Regions from separate parts of the Homo sapiens genome. Here region 2 is linked to region 1. The links are contacts of gene promoters, found by promoter capture Hi-C in blood cells and fetal thymus (Javierre and others, 2016). All regions are on one chromosome and are shown on one strand. The core of a region is centred on a gene start or on the middle of the fragment in contact, and the rest is flanking DNA. Distances in the headings are between cores, read along the strand shown.

What was found. The method cuts DNA at HindIII sites, captures the fragments that hold promoters and counts their contacts. A CHiCAGO score of 5 or more calls a contact.
Region 2: a contact is called between a fragment that was not itself captured here and the fragment with the promoter of AKAP7 in region 1, in 2 of 17 cell types (M0 macrophages and M2 macrophages). The highest score is 5.6, in M0 macrophages.

The regions. Positions count from the first base shown.
Region 1 is chr6:131,130,998-131,136,716 of GRCh38, forward strand. It overlaps AKAP7 (A-kinase anchoring protein 7), which reads left to right and starts at 4,470. Exons shown (of 8, transcript NM_016377.4): 1 at 4,470-4,785. The coding sequence starts at 4,767. RefSeq lists enhancers at 4,101-4,601, 5,038-5,097 and silencers at 4,428-4,517, 4,668-4,777. The HindIII fragment of the contact is 7,096 bases long and covers 3,281-5,719 here.
Region 2 is chr6:130,868,595-130,874,539 of GRCh38, forward strand. It overlaps EPB41L2 (erythrocyte membrane protein band 4.1 like 2), which reads right to left. Exons shown (of 20, transcript NM_001431.4): 15 at 969-1,532. Among named protein-coding and RNA genes, the nearest start is that of SMLR1, 44 kb to the left of the region's middle. The HindIII fragment of the contact is 1,164 bases long and covers 2,644-3,807 here.

The DNA.
Region 1 (5,719 bases), core at 3,220-5,719:
CTAATTTTTAGCCTTAAGCTGGAGAAGCTTGTTCAGGCGTGAGCAGGTATATGCAAACCTATCCTGAAGGGTTGTGGGAGCTGAGAGGCTGAAGAAAGTGACTGACAAATCCAGTTTTTCAGAAAGAAATATTTAACAGGGTCTTATGAACCAAAGTGACTCTCCAGAGGCCATGAGATTACACATCCTCGCATCCACCCTCCAGAAAGTATTCTAAGACTTGGGCAGTTGGTCCCATCTCAAACTTATGACCACTGGGGAGGTCAGATAAGCATCTTTATGAGGGGTTGTCTATGCTAGATGCTTGGTTTAAAAACCTTGCTGCAGAACACCTTTGCATGCAGGAGCCAGACATTGCTCTTCATGGAGGTTTTGCTTCAAGATGGCGCCACTCTTGCCACGCAACAGGCTGTTTGCCAACAAAACTGTAGGACATTAAGATTACCCGTGATATTGTTTCTCTTTCTTTCTTTTTTTTTTTTTTTTTGAAATTTATCTGGGAGTGCTGCTTTATTTTTTGACAAATCTGAGTACTTAATGGATCTGGATGCTTATAAAAGTTTTATTCATTCATTGAATGTCTATTCATTGAGAAATCTCTATGCATTTGGGAATACGAAGACTTTAAAACATAGTCTTTGCCTTCTAGTGGCGTAAAGTCTAATGTATGAAACAGAAAAATGTGGCAAAAGGGATGGTCAGAGCGGGCACAAGGAGTATTAAAGCCCTCAGGTGGAGTACCTAACCCAAGTAGAAGGGTGGGGTCAGGGACTGTTCCCCAAAGGAGGTCACTGACAGTTCCTACTGATCTTGACCATAGCTGCGGTCCCCTGTGACAGCAGTAGGACAGTTCAATGTACTGATGTGGGAAACAAACTCTATTTAATAACTGCTAAATGGTGCTGAGAATGAGTTAAGGTTAGAGATAATCGGCAAACTGACATAGAGGCTTAAAAATCTTAAAAATCCCTATAGGATGTTTGGTTATTGACAGAACCAGTTAATATTGAAAATCAATTAAATAGATAAATTCGGCCAGGCGCGGTGGGTCACAACTGTAATCCCAGCACTTTGGGAGGCCGAGGCGGGCGGATCATGAGGTCAGGAGATCGAGACCATCTTGGCTAACATAGTGAAACCCCGTCTCTACTAAAAAATACAAAAAATTAGCCGGGCGTGGTGGCGGGCGCCTGTGGTCCCATCTACTCGGGAAGTAGAGCAGGGAGAATGGCGGGAACCCGGGAGGCGGAGCTTGCAGTGAGCCGAGATTGCGCCACCGCACTCCAGCCTGGGCGACAGAGCGAGATTCCGTCTCAGAAAAAAAAAAAAAAGATGAATTCATAGGTATTAATTTGTTTTATGAAAGCAAAAAAGAACCAGGTTGCCCAATGCTTTAACGAAGGTTCACCTGCAGCACGACTCATGAGGGCATGGATCCTCTGGTCCACACTTCCCTCTCCCTCCGTATGTTCTGCCCATTCCTCCCTGACTATTAGTACACAGCCCTTTTCTCCCCAGAGGACAATATACACTGGCACAGTGCCAAAACAACTGGATTGGAAGGGTTTAGTTTTAAGCTACCACACTGTTCCTGGACCACAACACCCCACCGAGATTTTGAAAAGCCTGAGCCAATTATTTTCTAGAATGTCACACATTCTGGATTGGTCTGATTCTTTCCTCATCATGTTATTTTACTTGTACCTCTATCTCCTGTATTTCTGGAAATCTGAAAATTATATTTAAAGCCTTAGCAGCTTCAGGTGAAATATTTATGGCAAGACTACCTTGCAGTGATGATATAGCTTTCACAGGAGCTTTCACAGATTGTCCACCATTAATGATGCTGAGTTTAATCACGATAAAGGTGGTGACAACCAGGTTTATTTACATGGAGTAAAAATATGTTCTCTCCTGAGCAATTACCAAGTATTTTGTGGGGGGTAGTATTTTGGCAACTTATAAATATTTCGGTCCACATTAACCTTTCATGTAATGGTTTTAGAATATATTGATGATCTTTGCATCAATCAGTTATCAGTTGTGGTGGCAAAATGGTAATTTTCCAATTATTTTATGTCTCCTATATTTATTATTGAAAATTCTTCTGTGCAAAGCAGCTTTCCCATACTACTACTTCTAAAAAGTCATGGTAAATCTTTCTTTCCCTTTAATTTTTAGAGTAAGGAGACTAAGGAATTGCGTACTTGTCACCTTTAATGGTGGCCTACTAGTTTTTCTTCCTCATTTTTTGAGTATTATTATGGGTATATAGATTTTGTATTCAGTATGTTACAATAATTACAGGTGTTATCCTTTTATGATGTCAGATTATCTCCCATTTGCTCAAAGAAAGCTGTTTCTCGCTAGTCCTTGTGTTTTTGATAGTCCCCATTTGTCTTTGCTTTTTGGCACAAGAAGATGTCCAAGGTTCACCTTGTACTTCCCTTTCTCCCTGTCATTTCTAAAAGAAGCTCTGTGAAAAATTCCTTTTTCAGACTTGGGTAATTAAAATGTTCCTCCACATGGTAGGTGTTGATAAGACTCTGTATTCATAATACTGGTGGTGAAAAATATGTGGCATTTGGGCTGTTACCTCTGCTTAGGTAAGAGAATGAAACTTCCATATATCTCTTGGTACACACCACAGGGGAAGAAAAATCTTTCTCCTGCCCATTTAGTTCACTAGGTTGGACTGTGTAAATTAAATTGACAAAAGACAGATTAAGACGAGAAAAGGATTATTACACATGCACATAGATGCTTCACAGGAAAGAACTAAAAGCCCGAAGAGGCAGTTAGAACTGGGGGCTTCTATACCATTTTAACGATGATAAAGTGTGGAGAGGCTAGACAAAGGAAAAGGGGGCTTAGCCTTTTTGCAGTATGGGAAGGTTACTAGAAAATGTATGGGTTTGTTATGCAGGTAAGACTCATTCTCCTCTTTCTGGTATGGGTGAGTGGTAAAGCTTTGTTGTTTGTTTGTTTGTTTGAGACAGGATCTGGCTCTGTTGTCCACACTGGAGTGCAATGGCATCATCTCAGCTCACTGCAACCTCCACCTCCTGGGCTCCAGCGATCCTCCCACCTCAGCCTCTGGAGTAGCTGGGATTACAGGCATGGGTCACCACGTCTGGTTAATTTTTGTATTTTTGGTAGAGACAGGGTTTTGCTATGTTGCCCAGGCTGGTTTCAAACTCCTGGACTCAAGTGATCCACTCGCCTTGACCTCCCAAAGTGTTGGGGTTACAAGCGTGAGCCACTGGGCCCGGCCTGGTAAAGCTTTAAAAATAAAAATTTATGTCACCTTTACGAAGGGAAATTTATGTCCTGCTTTTAGGCAGAAAGGGGGAGGTCAAAGTTGTTCCTGAGTCTTTAGTTTCTGAACTGTTTTAAGCTCAAGAATAATCCTTATGCTGAAGTGGCATATTTGGGGTGGCATATTCTCATCCTCTTCACTATGAATGTGGACCACATTTTTGCAGCTTTTATTTCCGCAGTTACTTATGTTTCTTTCTCTGCTATTATATGATCAGCTCCATAAGTAAAAGACCTGTCTTACCTGCACATCCTCAGCACAGAGCTCAAGCATTAAATAAATATTAGGGGAACTGGTTGTACTTTCCTACCAGCCCATAAATGGGCATCAGAAACTCAACGTGTTAGAATTATTTGAAAATCAGAGTAACTAGTTTGCCGACTTCTAGTGTGCAGCCTTTACGCCAGCTGTTGTGGCTGTGTAGGGGTCTTCTTTTCTTCCATCCCTATTCTACGATGCATTCAACATAAGCGAAGTGTTATTATTCACGAAAGGCGCTAATTTGTGGACGGATGCACCTAATGTTCTTAACCCCTGGTTTCTTCGCACTAAAACCAATCCCAATAGCATTCCGTTTCAAGTGAAAGGTTTTTATTTTTTTAAACTAAGTAAATTTCTTTTTCTCCCAATTTACTCACTGCAGTACCTTATACTACAAGAACCAGCAACTGGTTTCCTCTTAATGTCTAAACATAACATCATTGTTAAAAATTAGAGACTTTGTCACAATTTGCAGTTTTTAAAAGTAAGGTAAATAAAGTATCTCATTATACAGAAGTACAAGGTCTCGTTCTTGTACATTTCGCTCTTCCCAAATATTCTGCAATCAGAACCCTGATTGCAAAACTAAGCACATGGATTCTCAAAAGACACCAGGCCAGAGAATTCTTTCATCCTAGTCCCAATCTCGCCCTTGAAAGCGTGGGAGGGGCAAGGCTGCGCCACGGGAAATAAATGAGGGCTGCCAAAGGCCGTCGGAGGCCGCGGGGCTCGGCAGGCAGGCGAAGACCCAGCGTCGCATTGCAGAGTCGAGACGACCTGGGCTGCCGTGACGCCGCAGTCGCCGGCCCTAGTTTCCCCCGCCCTGCCCGAGCGCGTCCGCGCCTCTCGCCCGAATCCGGGTACCACCGGCGACTCGGGTCGGCCCCTTCTGGCTTGTTCCGGCGTCCGGCCTGGCATGCGGGTGCTGCGGCTGCTGCGGCTGCCGCCGCCGCTGCTGCCGCTGCCGCGGGGGCTGCGGCTTGGGAAGCTCCGCGCTTCCGCAGGCCTGGCCTCCGCCGCCCGGGCCCCCGCAGCCTGTCGCTGGACCCCGCGCCGGCCCAGCGCACCGCCCTCAGGCCCCGAGCCCCGCCCTGGCCTCCGCCTCGGCCTCGCCTCCAGCCCCGGGACGCGGCCCGCCACCGCCGCTGCCGCCAGCCCAGACGCGCCGCCCGCATGCGCCGCGACCATGGAGCGCCCCGAAGCGGGTGAGACCGGGCTGTCCAGCGGGCCGGGGCGGGGGCGACAGGAGCCGCGGGGGCCTGGGCCTGCTCTGCGCTCGAACTTTGGGAGGGCCTGACCCGCGCCGGCCCTTCTCCGAGTCTCCCTCCTTCCCAAAAGGACTCAGGGTAGCACCGAGAAGCCCGGTGCAACCGGGGTGTACATCAGTGCTGCCTGTAGCGAAGCGTTTTAATGCACGCATTGTGGGTCCGACAGGAGGCGGGGGTATGAGCCCATCCCCGAGTTTCACTTTTCTTTCTCCCTTTCTCATCCTGTGACCCTTTGCACAAAGTTCATGCCAGTACACATTCCTTCCGACGGTGTTGATGTGGGTAAATGTAAACAAAACCTAGTAAAATTTCGATTTTATCTTATATCACAAATATTAAGCACCCGAACCACCATACTGTCTCATTTAGGATTTTCTGCCAGGTTTGGACATGACCGCTTTTAAAACTGGCGCCAAGTCTACACTAGCGCCCGGAATGAATTTCCAGTTTAGGTCAGCGTTTGTTGTGAACTGAACTTTGTGATAGAGCGAGTTAGGGGTGGACTTTCGGTAAAAGGGTCCGCAAACCAATTAGAGAAAAGGTGCTCCTCTGCAAGAGTTTCATAGGATAAACTCATAGAAGAGTATAAAAAGCATAAAAACGTTAAAGTGTACTATATAAATAGCAGTTAATCGTGTGAATATGTTGACAATTGTTAAGTGAATGATGACAGTGAGTTTTTGCATTTAGGAAATGCATGGGAATGGAAATTGTTAAGGAGAAAAGAGCCATACTCCAGTTCCTTGTTTAAGTGCCGTGGCTTTGCAATTCAGGATCCTGTTAGCATATCTGTATATTTTCCTTACTCATAAAGTTTAAGATGTTTGTGGAGGTTACTTCCTCCTTTCATCCATTTTCGGACACTATTAAC
Region 2 (5,945 bases), core at 1,976-4,475, 260 kb before region 1:
AGTAACATGGTTAAAATCCACTTAATTATTTTAAGACAAAGTCACTTCAACATTTTCCATCCCATCGAAGAGAACAAAATAAATCTCTGTACTGTGGGCATTTAATATTAAAATCAAGAAATATTCCCAAGGAAATAAACCCTCCCTCAGCCTAACTCCCAAATGAGAGACACTGCACTTAGTGACCAAAAAGTTCTCTTCTTTGAAAAGAAAAAGATTCATGTCCAATGTATAGATAATCCACAAAACATATAATCATCTGGCAAATACTCCAGAATTGACATCAGGATAGAATGAGAAGCGAGGATATCCTCCTATCAAATAGCCTAGCCTCTGGCTGCCTGGAAGAAAAGAAAGGCTCTTAACAAAACCATACAACCCCTGCAATCCCAAAACAGAAATCACAGTGGCATTCAAGAAATAACATTCTCATCACTGCTGGATACTGCATTCAGAGAACCACGGTAATCAGAGACTGCTGTCATTTCTAAAACTCTGAAGCTGAAGAATGAGCCAAGAAGTCAAACCCAATCATGACATCAGGGGCACACACACTCAGCAGTGACCATTTTTTTTTTCAACATTACATATACATTTTTCTAATTAAACCAAAAGGGGAAAAAAAGGCATTTAGTGTGAGGAAGCAGTGCAACTGAAGACAAAACAGTTGAAAACACCCAAAACATGCAAAGAAAAATTTAAATGTGAAAAGGGAAGGAAAAATTGATGTGGTGCTTCTAGGAAAGTTTACCCTACAGGTGTCCAGTGGCCGCAGAGAAGCTGGAACCCATGAACTGGGCGGGCAGAAAATCCACAAAGCAGTGCTTCCCCCTTCCTCCCATGAGAGAGAAAAATCAGATTCTTGTTGAAAAAAGCTGAAGAACTGGGAGGACAGGAGAAGAAAGGCAGGAGTTCCCCATCTGAGAAGCAGCTCTAGAGTTTGGCTCCCACCTGGGACTCCCATTTACCTCTGAACAACAAATAATTTGTGGCAAAACATCAATGTCAACATGGGACACCTCTCCGTTAACTTTCTGTGGCTCTTCCTCTGCTTCTTCTCCCATGTCTTGCTTAAGAGCGCCTTCGTGTACACTCTTCTCTCCGGGTATCTTTTGGGCACCTACATTTTCCTGGATCACTGTTTCTACTGTGATTACACTGGCACCTGCTTGTGTGACTGGGCTGGCTTCGGGCACTGCTTCCTCCCTCTCTACTACCTTGGCTGCCGGGCGGGGTTCTTCCTCCACCTCTTCTTCATACTCCTGTTCCTCCCTGATGGTGCCCTCGGTCACTCGGTGGTGGGGACGGTACTCTCCCACGTCTTCCTCCTCACTCTCACTGCTGCTGCTGCTGCTCTCAGAAGACAGGGAGGTGGAGTCTTTTTGTGTCACAGGCTCCACCTTACGAATCTCCCCAGGACCACTCCCAGGTGATATCTCTTTACCATTCATTTCTTCTGTGATTACTCTTTCGTCTTTCCCAACCTCTGCCCGCTTCTTCTCCTCCACTATATTCAGAGTCTCATGTGAACTCTGTACAAAAAAAGATGGATGAGGGAAAACAAAAATATATGAATAAATAAAAACAACGGAAACCCAAATTAACCGATGGCAGATTCATGTCATGGAGAAAAACAAAGATGATTATGATGGCTGACTGAAAGGGAAGCGGGGCAAACGTGAGGGCAATGAGAAACGTGAGGCAATGGTGTTAACATGGAAAAAGGGGAGAACCTTAACAGCATCCCTGGCTCCAGTGCAAGGCCCTTCTGACTCGGGAGCACGTGTCTGCAGAACAAAAAGCAACCGAGGACACAAAATCAATACAGTTTTACCTCAACAACCACTGAAACAAACATCTGACACTGCAAAGACAAAACAGCAAGAATCAACATCTACAGAAACCTCTGCTCAAGGTCACATAGAGGACAATCAAGACAAATGCCAAAAAGCTTACAAAAAGACACAAAAACAGCCAGCATCCTCCCAAAGAAGTAAAATGCTTTTATTATAGATATACCTATAAGCTCTACCTATGTAGTTAAAACAGTTTACAAAAATTGAATTATACCAAAGCTGACTCATCATTTTAAAGAAAAAAATTTAACTTTTAAAACCTAGTAACAGTTTTGGTTTTAATCAGACTATAAAGTCTAGCCTGGAACGCTGATTCTTAAATGAACACAGCACCAAGGAGATGGCACTTTTATTTTTTGCTGGTTTTCTTTAAAAAAAAAAAAAAAGTTTTAATTGGCAAAATTATAGTTAGCCTCAGAAGGCTATTAACATGAAAATGTTCATTCCAGAAATGGTTATTAACTTTCCAATTCGTATCATAGGTTGGCAAAGGCTATATTATACAATAGGGTGGGTGTCAATGGTGACTCCAAGTGTTTCCTTTTACAATTTAGCTCCTCTACTAGCATCTTTGAAATCTAAACTCAGTCAAGTTTATTATTTGACATGTTCACTCCTATCCCCTTCAGACATCTACTTCTTGGGAGTAAAGTAATTTACTCCAGTTGAGTAATATAGCACCTAAATGTTCAATAAATATCTGTTGACTTAATACATTAGGAACAAATTACTATGTTATGATATTATTAACTAGGGTGGAAACCTTTTTGTACAGAGGGGTTTTTAAAGCTTCACATTTTTCTCACACTTACAAAAAGTCTGCTTTACAATGATATAACTCAAGCATGGCCAACTTTTTGACTTCTAGGTGGTACTACTGCCTATGATCTAACTTAAAAATAATTCAGCTAGAGCCAGGAGCCCTATTTATTCACGAAAGTGACTCCATTCTGGATGGAGAAGGGCACCACACCACTGAGCCCTCTGGATATTGTTGTGAAGCTGCCAAGGTACTAACTGGACTGGAGCCTCTAATAGACAGCAGGGCTGAGTTCATCTCTCCCAGACACTTGGACAACCATGAGCTGAAGATCCTAACATCACACACACACGTCTCTGCAGCACTGTCAACGTCTACTCACAAACTCTCTTGGACCTGCCCTATTATTCTTAAACACATGGTAAGGGCATGGTTTCATTGACCCAAATTAATACCATGTAAATCACATTACTAACAGAAGACAGCTATCTTTCCAGTTTTATTGAAAACTCAGAGGTTTCTAGATATTAAACTGAAAAAACTCTCAATCTATTTTGATAAGCAGGTAAAATTTAACCATGACTACATATAATAAACATATCCAGTGACCAGAACATTTCTGAAACACACATTTCATTATTATTATAGATCAGTGAATTATTATTATTGTTATATCTTAACCTCAATTAGCTGGATAGGTTCTGCCCAAGTTCAGGGAATTCCTTAGGGTCATTCAAAAGCAATTATGTCATGGAGCATGGGAGGCACTTCAGATTTTTTCCATATAAACAGAATTTTAAAAATAACATGCCATCAGAGGATGCCTGAAATTTGGGGTTTTGAAAATGTCAACTCTGCAAAGCATATCTGGTTGAGGGTTTCCCTCTGCTTAACAGCCCAGACTCTGGAACTTAATGATTTAAATTATTCTCTGAATTTAGGCAGATTTTTTTTTTCTTTGACCAAAGAAGCAGGAGAAACATCCAATCTATATCTTTTCTTCATGTTCCAATTCAGTCATTGTTTCTTGAATGTTTCTCCCAGGAAGAATTAATTTCACCAATGAAAGCACTGGAGGGAATGGTGCCTGAATATTTAAAAAAATGAAAATCTCTCTCATATGTGGCTTTTAGTAACAGGGGAAACAAAGTAAAATGCACCTCAAGCAAGTGTGAGAAGGGCGAGGAAGAAAGCTTTTCAGAAGGTGCATTAGCGCTCACAACAGCGCCCTCTGCTGTCCAAGTGGTGGCTGAAGTGAAGGTGGCTTTCATGCTATCAGAAAAGCCCTTTTCACTAAACAAAATTGATGTTATCTCCTCTTCTAGGCTCTAGAGAGGTCAGAAAAGGAAGAGCAAAGAATTAGCAATAAGTCAGAACAGACAGCAGTGACCTATTGGAAGAAAGGAAAGGTTACACAAGAAAGAACAACAGAACAGCATAAAATGAAAGAAAAGATGAGAATTCTGACAGATTCTGGAGCAGGCTTATGAAGAGGTTTGTGAGCGCCAGCTTTTCCACCCTGCTTGAGAATCTTTGATAGTTGCGACCTCCAGAAACCAGTGAAAACTGCTTGGCTGATCACCAACTGAGCACAACCGACCCACCCAAACGCCATTTCATATATTCTTGAGGTAGTTCCTTGGCCTTTCTCTGCACGGAATGGCCTCTTCAGTGGCCCCTACACTTGAAATGCTTATTCCTGTGTTACAGCTTGGGCAGTCCTCCCTCTCCTGCCTCCAAGGCCCTTCTTTGCCCTTATCTGCACATTCTGGGCCTTTCCAGTTTTCTAACCTCCCTGAGGCCCACTTCATAGTCTGCATTTTCTGTAAGGCCTTCCCTCACCACTCCAACTCCTACAATCTCCCTCCTCAATACCACCTTAACTCTCTGTACAACAAACATTCTGACAGCAGCCCACATTCATTCCCTCAGGCGTGCTAAATATGCCACAGAGTAAATTACCCTGTCCCCTTTTTTTGCAAAAAGAAACAGGTAAAGAAAAACAATTCAAAATAGGAAGACAAACTCAGAGTTGAAAGCTCAATGAGCAACGTGAAAATTATTTCTCCCTAAATTAAACCATTAAAGCAAATTTAACTTTGCTGTGTCTGGCTCTTAAACAATGGCTCCCAACCTGCCTGAGGGACAGCAGAACTGTCCTTAGAAACTTGAAATGTCAATATTCAAGAGTCATCATGAAGCACCCCCTCATGTCAGAAGTGTGAGAATAATTCCTAATAAACCCCACTATTCAGGTTTTTTTTTTTTTTTGAGACGGAGTCTCGCTCTGTCACTCAGGCTGGAGTGCAGTGTGCCGCGATCTCGGCTCACTGCAACCTCTACCTCCCAGGTTTAAGTGATTTTCCTGCCTCAGCCTCCCCAGTAGCTGGGATTATAGGCGTGCAGCACCATGCCCAGCTAATTTTTATATTTTTAGTAGAGACGGGGTTTTGCCATGTTGGCCAGGCTGGTCTCTAACTCCTGACTTCAGGTGATCTATCCTCCTCGGCCTCCCAAAGTGCTGGGAATACAGGCGTGAGCCACCGCACCCAGTCACTATTCAGAAATCTTAAAGAAAAATCAATGACGCTCCTAAGGGGCCCCTTCATACTGTGAGCTAAGAAGGGTGAGGAGCGCAGAAAGTGAGGTGAGGAGGGTGAGGGGAGTAGGCACTTGCAATATTCAGCAGAGGAAAAAGCTTTTGGACTGACTTAACTTCATTACCATCTCTATGATTACATCGTCCCTTGGGGAAGTGGGGGTGGGTGGGATGCCCTTCCCAGTGAGAGATCACTGGGGAATTTAAAGAAGTGCCACACATTTCGTTATCCAATGACATACCTTCAAAAGTACCTTACAACTCAATGTACATAATCTCTTAGACTCAGGAGAGAATAGTCTATGCAAATTTAAGTCATCATAATTCATACAACACGTTAAGAGGATTACAATAGAGTTATTTACCCATTAAAGATTAAATGACTTGGTTTCCAATTTTCTGCTCTACTCTCAAAATTGTTCAAACTACAGCCACTTTGAAAATGCAATGTATTTTTTTTTTTTAAAAAGAAACTATTCCTGCTTTTTTAAAAAGCTATAAAAGCCCATATTATAGAAATTTGGAAAAGTGGTCAAATTATATACTTATGCATAATTTTTTTATTTTACTTTCAATAAGAATTACAATTCAAAGATAAACGAGAACCCCTGCAGAATTAACAGTAAAATGAAGATACAACAAAGACAGAAATTGAAAAGGTACTCTGGTAAAGTCAAAACACTCCCGTAGACAAATGCTCACATACTTTCAACTAATAGTAGTATGTTAT